Linked DNA regions of Homo sapiens: region 2 is linked to region 1. The links are contacts of gene promoters, found by promoter capture Hi-C in human tissues and cell types (Jung and others, 2019). All regions are on one chromosome and are shown on one strand. The core of a region is centred on a gene start or on the middle of the fragment in contact, and the rest is flanking DNA. Distances in the headings are between cores, read along the strand shown. Region 1 holds the start of EIF1AD (eukaryotic translation initiation factor 1A domain containing). Region 2 overlaps CNIH2 (cornichon family AMPA receptor auxiliary protein 2).

Evidence for each region. Contacts are between HindIII fragments. The study calls those that stand out against the background at their distance.
Region 2: a fragment that was not itself captured here is called in contact with the fragment with the promoter of EIF1AD in region 1 in 1 of the 25 tissues and cell types used here (lymphoblastoid cells).

The regions. Positions count from the first base shown.
Region 1 is chr11:66,000,895-66,007,549 of GRCh38, forward strand. EIF1AD (eukaryotic translation initiation factor 1A domain containing) reads right to left here and starts at 1,263. Exons shown (of 6, transcript NM_001242481.2): 1 at 1,016-1,263. BANF1 (barrier to autointegration nuclear assembly factor 1) reads left to right here and starts at 1,609. Exons shown (of 3, transcript NM_003860.4): 1 at 1,609-1,676; 2 at 2,341-2,479; 3 at 2,732-3,255. The coding sequence starts at 2,357. The coding sequence ends at 2,878. RefSeq lists enhancers at 961-1,330, 2,338-3,144 and silencers at 1,631-1,970, 6,464-6,655. The HindIII fragment of the contact is 11,764 bases long and covers 1-4,073 here.
Region 2 is chr11:66,279,220-66,285,795 of GRCh38, forward strand. It overlaps CNIH2 (cornichon family AMPA receptor auxiliary protein 2), which reads left to right. Exons shown (of 6, transcript NM_182553.3): 2 at 3,040-3,108; 3 at 3,514-3,561; 4 at 3,816-3,928; 5 at 4,029-4,172; 6 at 4,351-4,987. The coding sequence ends at 4,378. It overlaps YIF1A (Yip1 interacting factor homolog A, membrane trafficking protein), which reads right to left. Exons shown (of 8, transcript NM_020470.3): 5 at 6,482-6,539; 6 at 6,162-6,317; 7 at 5,654-5,747; 8 at 5,361-5,564. The coding sequence ends at 5,418. Among named protein-coding and RNA genes, the nearest start is that of CNIH2, 4.3 kb to the left of the region's middle. RefSeq lists an enhancer at 3,227-3,730. The HindIII fragment of the contact is 4,602 bases long and covers 3,026-6,576 here.

The DNA of each region.
Region 1 (6,655 bases), core at 13-2,512:
GCACTGTAAAACTTTTTGTTCTGTTAGCTGATGTATGTAGCCCCCAGTCACGTTTCTCACGCTTACTTGATCTATTATGACTTTTTCACGTAGACCCCTTAGAGTTGTAAGCCCTTAAAAGGGCTAGGAATTTCTTTTTCGGGGAGCTCGGCTCTTAAGACACGAGTCTGCCGACGCTCCCGGCCGAATAAAAAAACCTCTTCCTTCTTTAATCTGGTGTCTGAGGAGTTCTGTCTGCGACTCGTCCTGCTACAACAGAATGGGACAATACAATGCATGTCATGTAAAAGTAACTCCGGCCGGGCGCGGTGGCTCACGCCTGTAATCCCAGCACTTTGGGAGGCCGAGGTGGGCGGATCACGATGTCAGGAGATCGAGACCATCCTGGCTAATACGGTGAAACCCTCTCTCTACAAAAATACAAAAAATTAGCCGGGCGTGATGACGAGCGCCTGTAGTCCCAGCTACCCGGGAGGCTGAGGCAGGAGAATGGCGTGAACCCGGGAGGCGGAGCTTGCAGTGAGCCGAGATCGCGCCACTGCACTCCAGCCTGGGCGACAGAGCAAGACTCCGTCTCAAAAAAAAAAAAAAAAAAAAAGTAACTCCTATAATCTTAAGTACTAGTGTAATATAAAACTATACGCATGCTCCAGAGAAGTCATCCTGGCAACCTCTCTGGAAGGAGTTTGAAATAAACCGTATCTTTCTCAACACGCTTGTACACCCCAAGTCTAGCATAGTCACACAACAGAGAAGTTCAGTCTGGCAACACACTACAGCCGGAGACAAACTAGGTGGCCACCGTGATGGTTCAAGCCAGGAACTAGTTAATTAAAGGTTGAGGTGAGCAGGCTTGTCTGCGACATTTGCATATTTCTGACTTGCGTACTTAGAAGACGAAGGCCAGTACCCTTAAGACTGATGGTTTCCGAAAGAAACACTGTCGTCTCTAGTTGCTGTCCTCCTTCCTCCTCCCTGTCTATCCCGGAGAAAAGACCCTCAGAGAAACACCCACACTTAGTCTCTGGCCCTCGGCTCCCAGGAACGCTGCCGGAGCAACACCGCCGTCTAGGCTGGACGCTGAGAGAGGATCGTCCACGACTCACTTCAAGGCTGAACCAAGAAAACACAGTAAAGGAACTTGCCGGCGGCCGCGACGGTAGCGTCAGTTAGAAATCAGGTCTCCAGTGTTCCCAGTTCCCACCAGTCCAACTGCGAGGAGTGCGACGTGAGTCTGAGTCTGATCCCTCCGAAAACCGTACTTCCGGCGCTGTCTCGGAGGCCTCCCGTCCCCTCCCTTGTCCGTCTTCTAACTCTTCCCCACGCCAGGTCCGTCAAGCCTAAGTCCTTGAGTTCCGGGTCCGGGCAGCAGAGAAAGGAAGTCCTCTCCCTGGAGGCCTATCTCCCTCAGAACTGCGCGAGAAGCGAGACCTTAGAAGGCAGGGCTTCCCGCGAAGGACCGGAAAGGAGCGCCTACTAAGGACGCCGTCGAGGTCCGGGGCGCCTCAACTCTATAGCTCTAACTGGCTAGAAGTGCCCAACGTGGAATGTTTCTTTTTTAAAGGCGGCTCTTGAAGCGACCCGGAAGCGGAAGTGGAAGAAAGTTCTAGTGGCTTGAGGTATCCGCAGGAGCGGCCGGGTGGCGGGAGGAACCGTTACGGGAACTGAAGTTGCGGGTGAGCGCCAGCCGCGGAGCAGGGCCCTGATTGGAGGCCAGAGGGGTTGCGGGGAGAAGGGGAGGAGAGGGGTCGCAGGCGCTGTGGCGGGCCCTGGGGGAGAGCTTGGCCGCGCTGCGGGGAGGGGGCGGGGTGCAGCGCGTGGGAGCCGGGCCGCGGGAAGGGGCGGGCCGCAGCGGCGCGCGGTGGGGGCGGAGCTGGGGCGCGGCGTGAACCCCGCGGGCGGGGAGCGGGTGTGCGCAGCGCTAGGTGTGCGCTTCGCCCTGTAGGTAGAGAGACCCTTTGGTTAGCTTTCCACGCCAAGTGGCCGTTCCAGGCAGGCAGTGTCGTCTTGGTTCAGCCAAGGTCACAGAGGGAGTGATAGCTTCCGCGCAGCCCTGGCTACGGACTCTGGGCATCTTTCCACTGCCCCGCTTGCGCCACCTGTTAGGCAGGATCGTTTTTCCTCTGGGGCAAGATCAAAATCCAGGTCCTGCAGGAAGAAACTCCTCTTAAAAATAGTAGGGAAGAGTCTCCCTGGAACTGTTTTCTCCTTTCAGGATGAGGGGGATCGAGCAAGCCACTGTAACCCCTGGCTTGGCTTCCTCTTACTATGAGATTGCTCGTGGGCCCTTAGAAGTTCCAGGTCTTCAGCCCTAATCTGCCTTTTTTTTGGGATTCCTAGATTAAGCCTGATCAAGATGACAACCTCCCAAAAGCACCGAGACTTCGTGGCAGAGCCCATGGGGGAGAAGCCAGTGGGGAGCCTGGCTGGGATTGGTGAAGTCCTGGGCAAGAAGCTGGAGGAAAGGGGTTTTGACAAGGTGTGGGGTGGCTGCGTGTACCTAGTGCAAGCGGGGGGTGGAAGGGAAGTGATTCCATCTGCTGGGGGATGGACAGTAAGGTATAATCTGAAGAGGCTGCCAGAGCCTGGGCACCTGGTGGAGAGGAGAGGGGGGCAAAACCCGCGCTGCTTCCTGGGCTTGTGTGCTCTGAATGGCACAGGAATGGCTGTCTTGCTCTTATCTCTCACTGAGCACTGAGCAGCACGCTCCTTCCTTTTCCCTGTTTTGCAGGCCTATGTTGTCCTTGGCCAGTTTCTGGTGCTAAAGAAAGATGAAGACCTCTTCCGGGAATGGCTGAAAGACACTTGTGGCGCCAACGCCAAGCAGTCCCGGGACTGCTTCGGATGCCTTCGAGAGTGGTGCGACGCCTTCTTGTGATGCTCTCTGGGAAGCTCTCAATCCCCAGCCCTCATCCAGAGTTTGCAGCCGAGTAGGGACTCCTCCCCTGTCCTCTACGAAGGAAAAGATTGCTATTGTCGTACTCACCTCCGACGTACTCCGGGGTCTTTTGGGAGTTTTCTCCCCTAACCATTTCAACTTTTTTTTGGATTCTCGCTCTTGCATGCCTCCCCCGTCCTTTTTCCCTTGCCAGTTCCCTGGTGACAGTTACCAGCTTTCCTGAATGGATTCCCGGCCCCATCCCTCACCCCCACCCTCACTTTCAATCCGTTTGATACCATTTGGCTCCTTTTTTGGCAGAACAGTCACTGTCCTTGTAAAGTTTTTTAGATCAATAAAGTCAGTGGCTTTCATGACTGGGCTTTGTGCACTGAAAAGCAAGTGGGCTGGGAGTTGCCTCTCCTTCAGGGACTGACCATGTTTCCCTCACTCCTTATCAGTAGAGACCGAAACTGGCAGCTTCCCTTCCACTCCCAGAGGGCAGCCACCCTAGCCATGTAGGCCTCAGGCAGGTGACTTTTGTCTCAATCCCCGAGTGATGTGGGAGAGGGTGTGGGTGGATCTTTTCCTGGGAGCCAGATGGACTGTGCTCCAGATGTCAGTTAAGTCAACAGCTGGGCTAGGCAGCACCTGGTGGAAAAGTCAGTGGGAGTCAGAGGTACCAGACAGGGTGGGCCGGATGTGGGTGAGAGTTCACCTGCCAGTCATCATCTGCTCTCCCGGCCTCTGTAAGGGTGGGCAGGGTGCTTGCCATCTTCCATGATCTCTTAGGGAGGAGAAGGAGCACAGGCATCACAGCTGGAAGGATGTGAGGGGAGTACACCTCAGTACATTTTAGTCCTGTTCTTTTTGTTTACTTTTTAACTTAATAGGGACAGGGCCCTGCTCTGTTGCCCATGCTGGCCTTAAGCGATCCTTAAGCCTCCCAAAGCGCTGTGACTATAGGTGTGAGCCACCATACCCGGCCAGCCCTATTATTTCTTGAACACTTAGTATGAACCAGGCTTGAAGCTAAAATCTTTGCAAACATTTTTTTCTTTCACAGTAATAAATATTTTCTCCTTTACAGGTGAGGAAATTTGAGGCTCAGAGAGGCTAATTTGCCCATGGACTTGCTCCTGGGAAGTAGCCAGACTGGAACTCAAACTAGCTTGGAAACCCAGGGACCCGGCCATGTGTTCCTTGGTCATGTGGCTTAGCCTCTCTGAGCCTCAGTTTCTCCACTTGGAAAATGAGGTGGTTGTAGGGAAAGGATATTTGCAGCAGTATAAACAACAAAGGACTATTTCCATAGCACATACAGAATTGCAATCAAGAAAAAAGCGGACTGGCTGGGCGCAATGGCTCACGTTTGTAATCCCAGCACTTTCAGAGGCCGAGGTGGGTGGATCACCTGAGGTCAGGAGTTCAAGACCAGCCTGGCCAACATGGTGAGACCCCATCTCTACCAAAAATACAAAAATTAGCCGGGTGTGGTGGTGCACGCCTATAATCCCAGCTACTCAGGAGACTAAGGCAGGAGAATCGAACTTGGGAGGCAGAGGTTGCAGTGAGCCGAGATCACGGCCATTGCACTCCAGCCAGGGTGACCAGAATGAAACTTTGTCTCAAAAAAAAAAAAAAACAACAGAAAAATGGGTAAAAGATCTAAGACGGCCACAGAAGAGGGTTCCCTCCCAGTAAATAAGCACAGGAAAGGTGCTCCATATTGCTAGTAATAAGACATCACATGCCATTAACACCCACCTGACTGGCAAACACTTTTAAGTTGGACAATACCAAGTATTGATGAGATAATGAAGCAACAGGAACTGATACCTAGCTGGTGGGAGTATAAATTGGTCTAAACAATTTGGGAAGACAGTTGGGTGTTATTTAGTAAAACTGACACGCCCTGTGACCAAGCAGTTCCACTCTCAGGACTGTGCCTTGAAGAAAGTCCCGAACACCTGCAGCAGGACCTAGATGAGTTTGCAGCTGCATTGTTGGGAGCAACGCTAGCGGCTGTCAATACTAGAGTAGATAAATAGGCACTCATGCCACCGGACACTGGACGGAGGTAAAAATGAACAAATGATAGTTGTGTACAACACGAATCTCAATAGCAAATGAAGACAAACAAATTCTTAGGAATTCCTACATAGATGGTAAAACTAGAAGGAAAACAAAGGAAATGATTATGGTAAATAGTAAAGGAAAAAGTCTACAGGGATTATCTTTGGGGGAGGGTGTGGAAGGGCTTAAGGGTAGGCTTGGCCTACCCTGACCTGTGTTTCTGACCTATGGGGTGGTGGTACAGGCATTGACCAAAAGTGTATGTTCTGCGCCCTTTTCAGTGTATTCGCTACATCTCAACAATAGAAAGATAACAGGAAAACCAAAAATAAAGACCTGAGGCTGGAACGATTGAGTGAAAGGTCAGAAACTAAATTGTTATTTGTAGGGATGAGAGTTCTGTGCAAGGCTGGGACTGGAAAGTGCGAGTGGCCCAGCTTGAAAGGGACACCAGGTGACTGCAGCAGGGCCCAGCTTGTGCTTCAAGCCGCTTCCTGGGAGGCTGCTGGTCTGAGTCCCGGCTGAGGTGGTCACGAGGGCTCTCTCTTGAGTTTCAGACTGTTTCTGATGTCTTCCCGGCTAAGTCCCCTCAGCCTTGACCCTCATGCTATGATGCTGTCGCAGGCCTTGTGTGCTTAGGTGGGGGCTTTGCAGGGCTCCGGCCTCACCACACCTCAGTCCTGATGCTGCCAGCTTGTTGCTGGTGCTCTGTGAGGTCATGGAGACTCCTCCTCCATGAAGCCCTTCCCTGGGCTCCTGCCCACGCTGGCCTCCTGGTTTGGCCTCGCCTGGTGGCACTGGGACCCTGCTGGAAGCCTGCGGCTCATGCTGTCTGCTTTATTTCCTTGTTGTCTGCCTTTCCCGGCTCACCCACAGGCTTTGCCATAGAAGGGACTGGAACCTGCCTTCTCACCTCTCCCTTGGGGCACAGGCAGTGCATATACCAGGTGGCAGGCCACAAACCCTTTATCAGGACTCCATATTGCATCCCACACAAGTTCTTGGCTCTGTCCTGGGACAGCAGTAGACAAAGGGCATCTAGAATGTACCTTGTGACAGTGTGGCCTCTCAGATCCAGCCCGACTCAGCCAGCAGGACAAAGGGACCACGGCTTGGAATGCTGGCGCAGAAAGCAGACCTGGCTGGTGAGGGGTATGAGTCAGGTTGTCTCAGTGTCAGCCCGTGGTGTCCAAGAGGACATGCCTGGCCACCCACTAGCCTGGGACATAGGTGGGCCCAGAAATCAGCAAATACTGACCCCATCCCCCCATCACACCCAGCCAGAGCTTGACCCCCTCAGCTGGTCTAGTCATGAGTGCTCAGAGCCAGCCTAGAACTTCGTGTGAACCCAGCCCATGCACTCTGGGGTGCTGAAGGGCTCCTGCTGCCCCCAGAAAGGAAGTAGGGGGAGGCTACCTGGACCACCACAAGCCCTGCCCCCGGCAGCCTGCTGAGCATGGAAGGCTCCCAGCAGGTGCTTGTGACTGTTGATCCCTTTCCAGGCTGGCCCCTCCCTGTGGGGACCAGGGCTCTTTCCTGTCACTCCCAACCTTGACTGGTGGCAGCCTTGAAGAGCCAGCCAGGCCCGATTCTGGGGCTTTGCTCCCCATGCGATCTGGAGCAAGTTGCTTCACTCCCCTGAGCTACAGCCTCCTCTGCCAGCTGATAACAGGGTTGTGAAGATTCAACCAGTGAATCAGC
Region 2 (6,576 bases), core at 4,077-6,576, 280 kb after region 1:
CTTGGTCTGTCCCTCGCCCTGGCCTAGCCTCACACCTGGTTCTTCAAAATGTCCATTCCTCATCCTGCATCCGACCCATCGCTTCCCCCAGGCTCCCTCCTCCTCCCCTCCCGCTCCTCTCCTCCAGGGCCTCCTCTGCCTGGCTCCCGTCCCCTCACTACAGAACTATCAATCAGCCTCCAGCTGGTTGTTGGGGGCCCCTGGCCCCACTTTACTGCCCTCCGTCCCCACCCCCACCCAAACCCCGTGCCTGTTTCTGTAACAGCCTGCCCAGCTCGGCCCTGGCTGGCTCAGCTCAGCATCCTCTGCTCACACCTCCCGCGCACACCTCCCTGATTGTCATTCCCTTTCAGGGGTCCTCTTATCCCTCCCTCAATCCCATTTCCCATAGCCCTTCCCTCCTTCCTCCCGGTGCCTCACCTGCTTCTTTCCCGGGCTCTCCACTTCCTCTCTCCTTTCTCTTCCTGGGACCTGCCGCCTGCTCCATGGTTCCCCCTGCGCTCCCTTTGCCATCCCCTGCCACCTTGCTCTTTGACATCGGGAATCCATAGACTGAACCCCTACTGTGTGAAGAGTGAGCCCCCAAAGGCACCTCAGCACACACCCCAGCTCCAGCCCTGTCACTCCTTGGCCTGGCTCTGCTCTCTCTCTGGGTCTTGGTTGCTTTGTCTTTCCCCCTCTCCCCCGCACCCCGAGTTACTCTATTTTTCTTTCTGTGGGGTAGGGGCAGGAGGGCTAGGGTTCTAAGGACTGGAGGGAGCTGGGGGCCACAGGCTAGGGAATGCAGAGCTGACCAGCTCCTGGGAGAAGGGCTCCTGGAATTCAAGAAGCCTCTTTTTGGGGCCTTCCCCACCCAGGGCCTTCCCACAGCCCCTGTGGGGTCCCTGTCCTCAGGGGATCCTCAGCAGTTTATCCACCACGCCTGCATTGATGCTTCCCAAAGATCAGGCTCTGGGTGGCTTTGAGGGGGTCAAGGATGAATAAAACCCAGACTTTGCCCTTGTGGAGTGCCCAGGCTGGGAGGAAAGGCCCAAGCTTTGAAGAAATGTCTTTGTTCATTCAACAGATATTGATTGAGCACCTGTGTGAGGTACTCTGTCCACTCAGCCATTTAGCTGGACAATCTTAGCAAGTCATTTGTCCCAAGTCTGGTTCCTCGCCGGCAAAGTGGACCTGTGCACATCAGAGTGCCTAGTGCGGCCTGCTGGGTGGTAGGGGATAGGAGGCGTGGTCCTCAGTCCACAGCTGCTAAGAACTAGACTCTTAACAGGGCGGGACCCCAGATCCCACTCCAGACCCTCAGCCCAGGCCCCAGTGGTTCCTAGGCAACCCTGGCGGTGAGTGACGCGTGTCAGCTGTCACCATGGGGGATTGTTTGTTCCGGGGGGCTGAGTCAGCGCCAGGCAGCCTGGGGGGTGGGAGGGGTGACGCCCGCCGCCTGCTGGTGGTGCCAGCTCTGGGGTACAGACGGCACCCTTCTGCTCCCTGTGGACCCTGTTGCTGTGCGTGCCAAGTGGCGCTGCCCAGAGTCAATGGGGAGCTGGGCGGGGAGGGGGGATGATCCAGATGGCCTCAGCTCCCTCCAGGAAGCCCATGTTCTTTCTCTCTGAGCCGTCTGGGGCCTGGGATGCCTGGGGGTGGTGGGCCTGCTGCCTCATCCTAGGGCTGGAGCCGACAGGAGGGGACCCCAGCAGGCTCCTCTGCCAGCCCATTTCCCCCAAGTCACCTGTCAGCTCCTTCCCATCCCATCATCCCCTCAAACACTTGCTCCCCTGGAGAGTTTCCACCCGTGAGGACACTGCCGTCTGCCAGACACCCCAACACCTGAAGCCACCTTAGATTTCTGCCTTCACTTCTCAGCCATTTGAACCCTCTGGAGTCTGGCTCCTAAAGAGCTGTAGAATCCCATGCACGCCTTCCGTCTCCACTACAACTCTCCTCACTCAGACCACCATCAGCCCTGCCCCTAACCCTCCAAACCGTCCCCTTGCTGGTCTGGCCTGAGTATGACACAGTGGTTAGGAATTTTAACTCTGGAGTCACACTGGGTTAGAATCCACTAACCAGCCGTGTGGCCCTGGACAAGTCACTTAACCTGCCTCAGCTTCCTCATCTGCAAAACAGACATGAAAATAAAACTAGTACCTAAGTCATAAGGTTGTTAAGAATTAAATGAGTGAATCCACATACCGGCCAGGAGAAGCACCACTTAGATCTCAGCTGTGACTGTCAGTGAGCTCGGATTTCCTGCCCCACCAATCCTGAGACATGGACCAATCCTAAGACATGGACCTGACCACCCCACTCTGCTGCTGTGTACTCTTCAATGCCTCCCCCCAAAATTTTTGTGTTAAAGTAAGTCCAAACTCCTGCTCTGGCCTCACAGGGCGCCCATGTCTGGCTCTGCTGAATTCTCCAGCTCCTCTTCCACCACTCTCTCTTTTCTTCCTGCTCGCTGCGCTGTCACGCCAGCCCCATGAAACCCGCAGCCTCCTGAATGTCTCCTGACCTTTCACCCCTCTGCCATTGCACCTTCTACTGCTTGGACTGCATTTCCCCCATTTGCTCACCAACACCTACTCCGAGTCCAGCCTGAACTCCCTCACCCCCCACACAGGGTTAAGCGCCCACTCCAGGTCCTCCCTGTACCCCAAACCCTGATCACCTGGAAGGCAGAGTGATCATCCCTCTGGGCCTGGGTTCCTCCTGGGCAGGGGCTGCATCCCAGGCCTCTGGAGCCCCAGTGCTCAGCACAGGGCCTGAGACTTGGCAGGGCAGACACGAAGCCATGTCTTGGGATGTTTTGGAAGGGGGTGTAGTGGACATGGGCCTGAACTGGGCATCCAGACGCTAGGGTTCCCTTCTGGACTGTTGTAATGACCTTGGACCAGGCCCTGCTCCTCCCTGGACCTCGGTTTCTCCACCTTTGCAACAAGCTCCACCTGGCTGGTCCTCTTCAGTAAACTATCCCACAGAAGGACTTGGGGGAAGGCCATAAGCTGCTGCCCCAACCCTGACGGGCACACGCCCCTCCCCCAGATCATAGCCTTTGATGAGCTGCGGACCGACTTCAAGAACCCCATCGACCAGGGGAACCCTGCGCGGGCAGTAAGTGATACATGTGCTGTGCCGAGGTGTGTCCGTCCGTCTGTCTTTCCATCTGTCGTGGGCTGGGGGTGGGAGACGGGAAGACGGGGGTGGGGTGGGGGGCCTACGGCCATGCCCCCTTCCTCTCTGTCTCCGCCCCCAGCAAACACCTGGCGCGGGCTCAGGGCTGAGTTCCTCTTGGCGGGGCGGTGGTTGCCAGGCTCTGGGCCGTTGCCATGGAGACGCGGGTGAAGGCCCTTCCATGGTGACGGTCGCCATGGGGACGGCGCGGCTGCTTCCCGGCCGTGCCGACAGTGCCGCAGAGATCGCTCTGGCGCCCCCTGGCGGCCACATGTGGAGCGGTGGGAGCTGCTCCAGTACCTGCTTCTCCGCCACCCCATCGCGGCCTTTTCCTTCCCCCAACAGCGCGAGCGTTTAAAAAACATCGAACGCATCTGCTGCCTCCTGAGGAAGGTCAGTGTCAGGGCTGGGGGCAGGAGGCTCCTAGCCCAGCGCTGCCCCCACTGTCTGTGGCCCAGAACCAGGCCTTCCCCTGCTTTGGGCCTGTTTGATCCACTCTACTTGGGAGGGAGTGGGAAGCCAGAGGCCTTTTAATCCCCAGAGGTCACGGTGGGTGGGCACCTCCCAAACCCCAGCTCCTCTCTGTCCCCTTGAAGGCTGGTCTGTCATAGCACCAGGCCGCTGACCTCTCACCCTCACTCCCCCAGCTGGTGGTCCCAGAATACTCCATCCACGGCCTCTTCTGTCTGATGTTTCTGTGTGCAGCAGAGTGGGTGACCCTGGGCCTCAACATCCCCCTCCTCTTCTACCACCTCTGGAGGTGAGGGTAGCAGCTGCCTTGGGGAGGCTGAGATGGGGAACAGGGGCAGGATGGGGGTGGGAGTCCTGATGGCAGACACTCAGGCCCCTGTCTGCCCCAGGTACTTCCACCGTCCTGCAGATGGCTCTGAGGTCATGTATGATGCGGTCTCCATCATGAATGCTGACATTCTCAACTACTGCCAGAAGGAGTCCTGGTGCAAACTTGCCTTCTACCTGCTCTCCTTCTTCTATTACCTGTACAGGTGAGGCCTTGCCCACAGCAGTCAGAACTCAGGGAAGGGATGTCCCAGCATCACGCTTCCAATCCCAAGTTCCTGCCTTTTGCCCCTGAGGACTGAGGGCAGCCCAGGGTGTGACCAGGTGGGCATCTGGGTGGCTGTGTGTGTGCAGGGCTAGGCTCACTGGCTCATCTTCCTACAGTATGGTTTATACGTTGGTGAGTTTCTAAGGGGGAAGCCGGCCAGGGAGCGAGCCCAGAACGGACCGGACGCCTGTGCACCCCCAGCCCTGCCCCTTGGCCGCAGAGGCCTCAGCCCTGGGGAGGGAGGGGGCACTGGTGCCCCCAGCCTCTCCAACCCCCAAACTGCTGCTGCGGGGAACCCCCCCCACCCCGCCTTCAGAGCCCTCCCCCTTGGACTAGAGCGGCTGGGCAGAGCTCTAAACAGGGGCAGGGGCTCCTCTGCCAGCCTGTGGGCATGGCAGTCATTCCTGGAAGGGGCAGGACCTCCGGCCTTGTCCATTTCGGGGGAAACTTGGGCCCTGCCAAGGGGCAGAGCTTGACCCTGGAAATTCTGGGCCATCCCCCTCCACCCCCACCCTGAGGCTCCCCCTGCAGGTGGGGGGGTACCCGCACCGGGAATGAGCAGGCTCAGCAGGGGGGCAGCCCCACCCCTAGTCTGCCCTCCCCTCTCCCCCAGGCTCTTTCTCCAGCCCTGTCTCCATCTGCCCCAACCTCAGCCCACCTTGTCTCTTGGACCTATTTTCTATGTCGCCTGGAGGAGTCCGGCACCCCCTCCCCGGCCATTTGTGACAAAATATGAATAAACTACTGCAAATATGTGGGCCCCGGTTCTGCTCCTGGAAAGCTTGAAGAGGAGATGGGGGCCGATTACAGGGACTGTATAGGGGGCAGCCCTAAGCTGAATCCCCAGCCTGGCTTGTCTCACCCCACTAGCCCACAGACCCTGCTGGAGCCCCCCAGAGGGATCAGACGCCTTCCAGGTCCCCTCAGCAGCCTCCTTCCATCTTCTCTTTCCCAGCTGAGGCTGCTGAAACCCTTACAAGGCAGTATCAAGGTCACCAAAGTCATGAAGCCCTCCCTGGGTCCACCTTCTTCCTAGACGGCCCCAAGCCCGATCCCCTGGGCAATGCAGAGGCGCAGAGGTATCTGTAGCTCCCCATCAGGCCCCAGGAACAAGGGTCAGACAAAGTCAAGGAAATCAAATCTTCAATGAATGAAAAACTCAGTGCCATCTGGGGCCAGGGGGTCACCGGACCAGGTGGAAAGTCAGCCAGTATATGATGAGGGGCTGGAAGGCTGCAGCTCCCAGAGTCAGGTAGAGCTGGAGACGCTGCCGGGGGACGGGGCCCCCCATGCTGTCGGGGCCCAGGGCTGCTGTCCGCAAAGAGCGCACCTGGAAGAAAGGAGAACTGAAGCCTGGCCAGGAGGGGGAGGTTTGCCCTCAAGTGAAGGCAGGGGAATGGGGGGGTGCACCAGACTCACAATGAAGTACATGAGCGCCGATGAGGTCCAGGCCAGCGCCACGTAGTAGCCATCGCTGCCGAACAGCAGCCCCGTGAGCACACTGAGGATCATTCTGGGGGTGGGAGGAGGAAAGGGTTGGTGACCCCCAGGGGTCTAGGCCTGAGATTGGCCCTACCCCCAACGCCCAGAGCCCAGCTAGACCCCACCTCCCACAGCACCTTTTACTCTCAATCTGTCCCCACAGGGACCCAGACCCCAAAGGGATATGGAAGGCCCAGGACTCAGCCCCAGGACCTGGATCTGAGACCCCCTTCTCTCCCCAAGACTCGCAGAGTGACTCTCAACACCTCCCCAACCTCTGCATGGCACGCAGATCCTCAGGAGACTGCTGGAGACAGCTGCTCCCTCTTAACAGAGCAGTGCTAGAGGTCACTAGGGGCCGAGACATGTCCAGGGTCACAGTTCGAGGCTACAGCTATGCAGGCCCAGATCCAAGGCCACCTCCCCCTGGCCCACAAGTGCTCACCCCACGTATTTGTAGCCACTGTAGGCCAGCAGGTGAAAGGTGCTCAGGTCACTGCGCACGGTGGCCAGGTAGAGGCCCAGGAGCAGGGCCAGCACCTCCATCACCACCCACACCAGCGCTGTGCTTGCACACAGGCCCAGCACCTCCGGGGAGAACCTGCGCCAAAGCAGGGGTGGCTCAGAGCCAGGCATCCTGAGGCAGGGGTGAGGAAGAGAGACTGGGGCAACAGAGGGTGAGCTGGGGACCACCACATATGCCCTAGGGAGGTTGGGAGAAGAGCTCACAGGGAGGGGAGGGTAAGGGAGGGGCTTGGCACTGACCTTTTCTGAATGCCCAGTGCCATCCCAGCCAGGAGCACGTAAGTAATGAAGGCCATCGCTGCCAAGTGCCAGAGAGATGCCATCAGCTTGGCTTC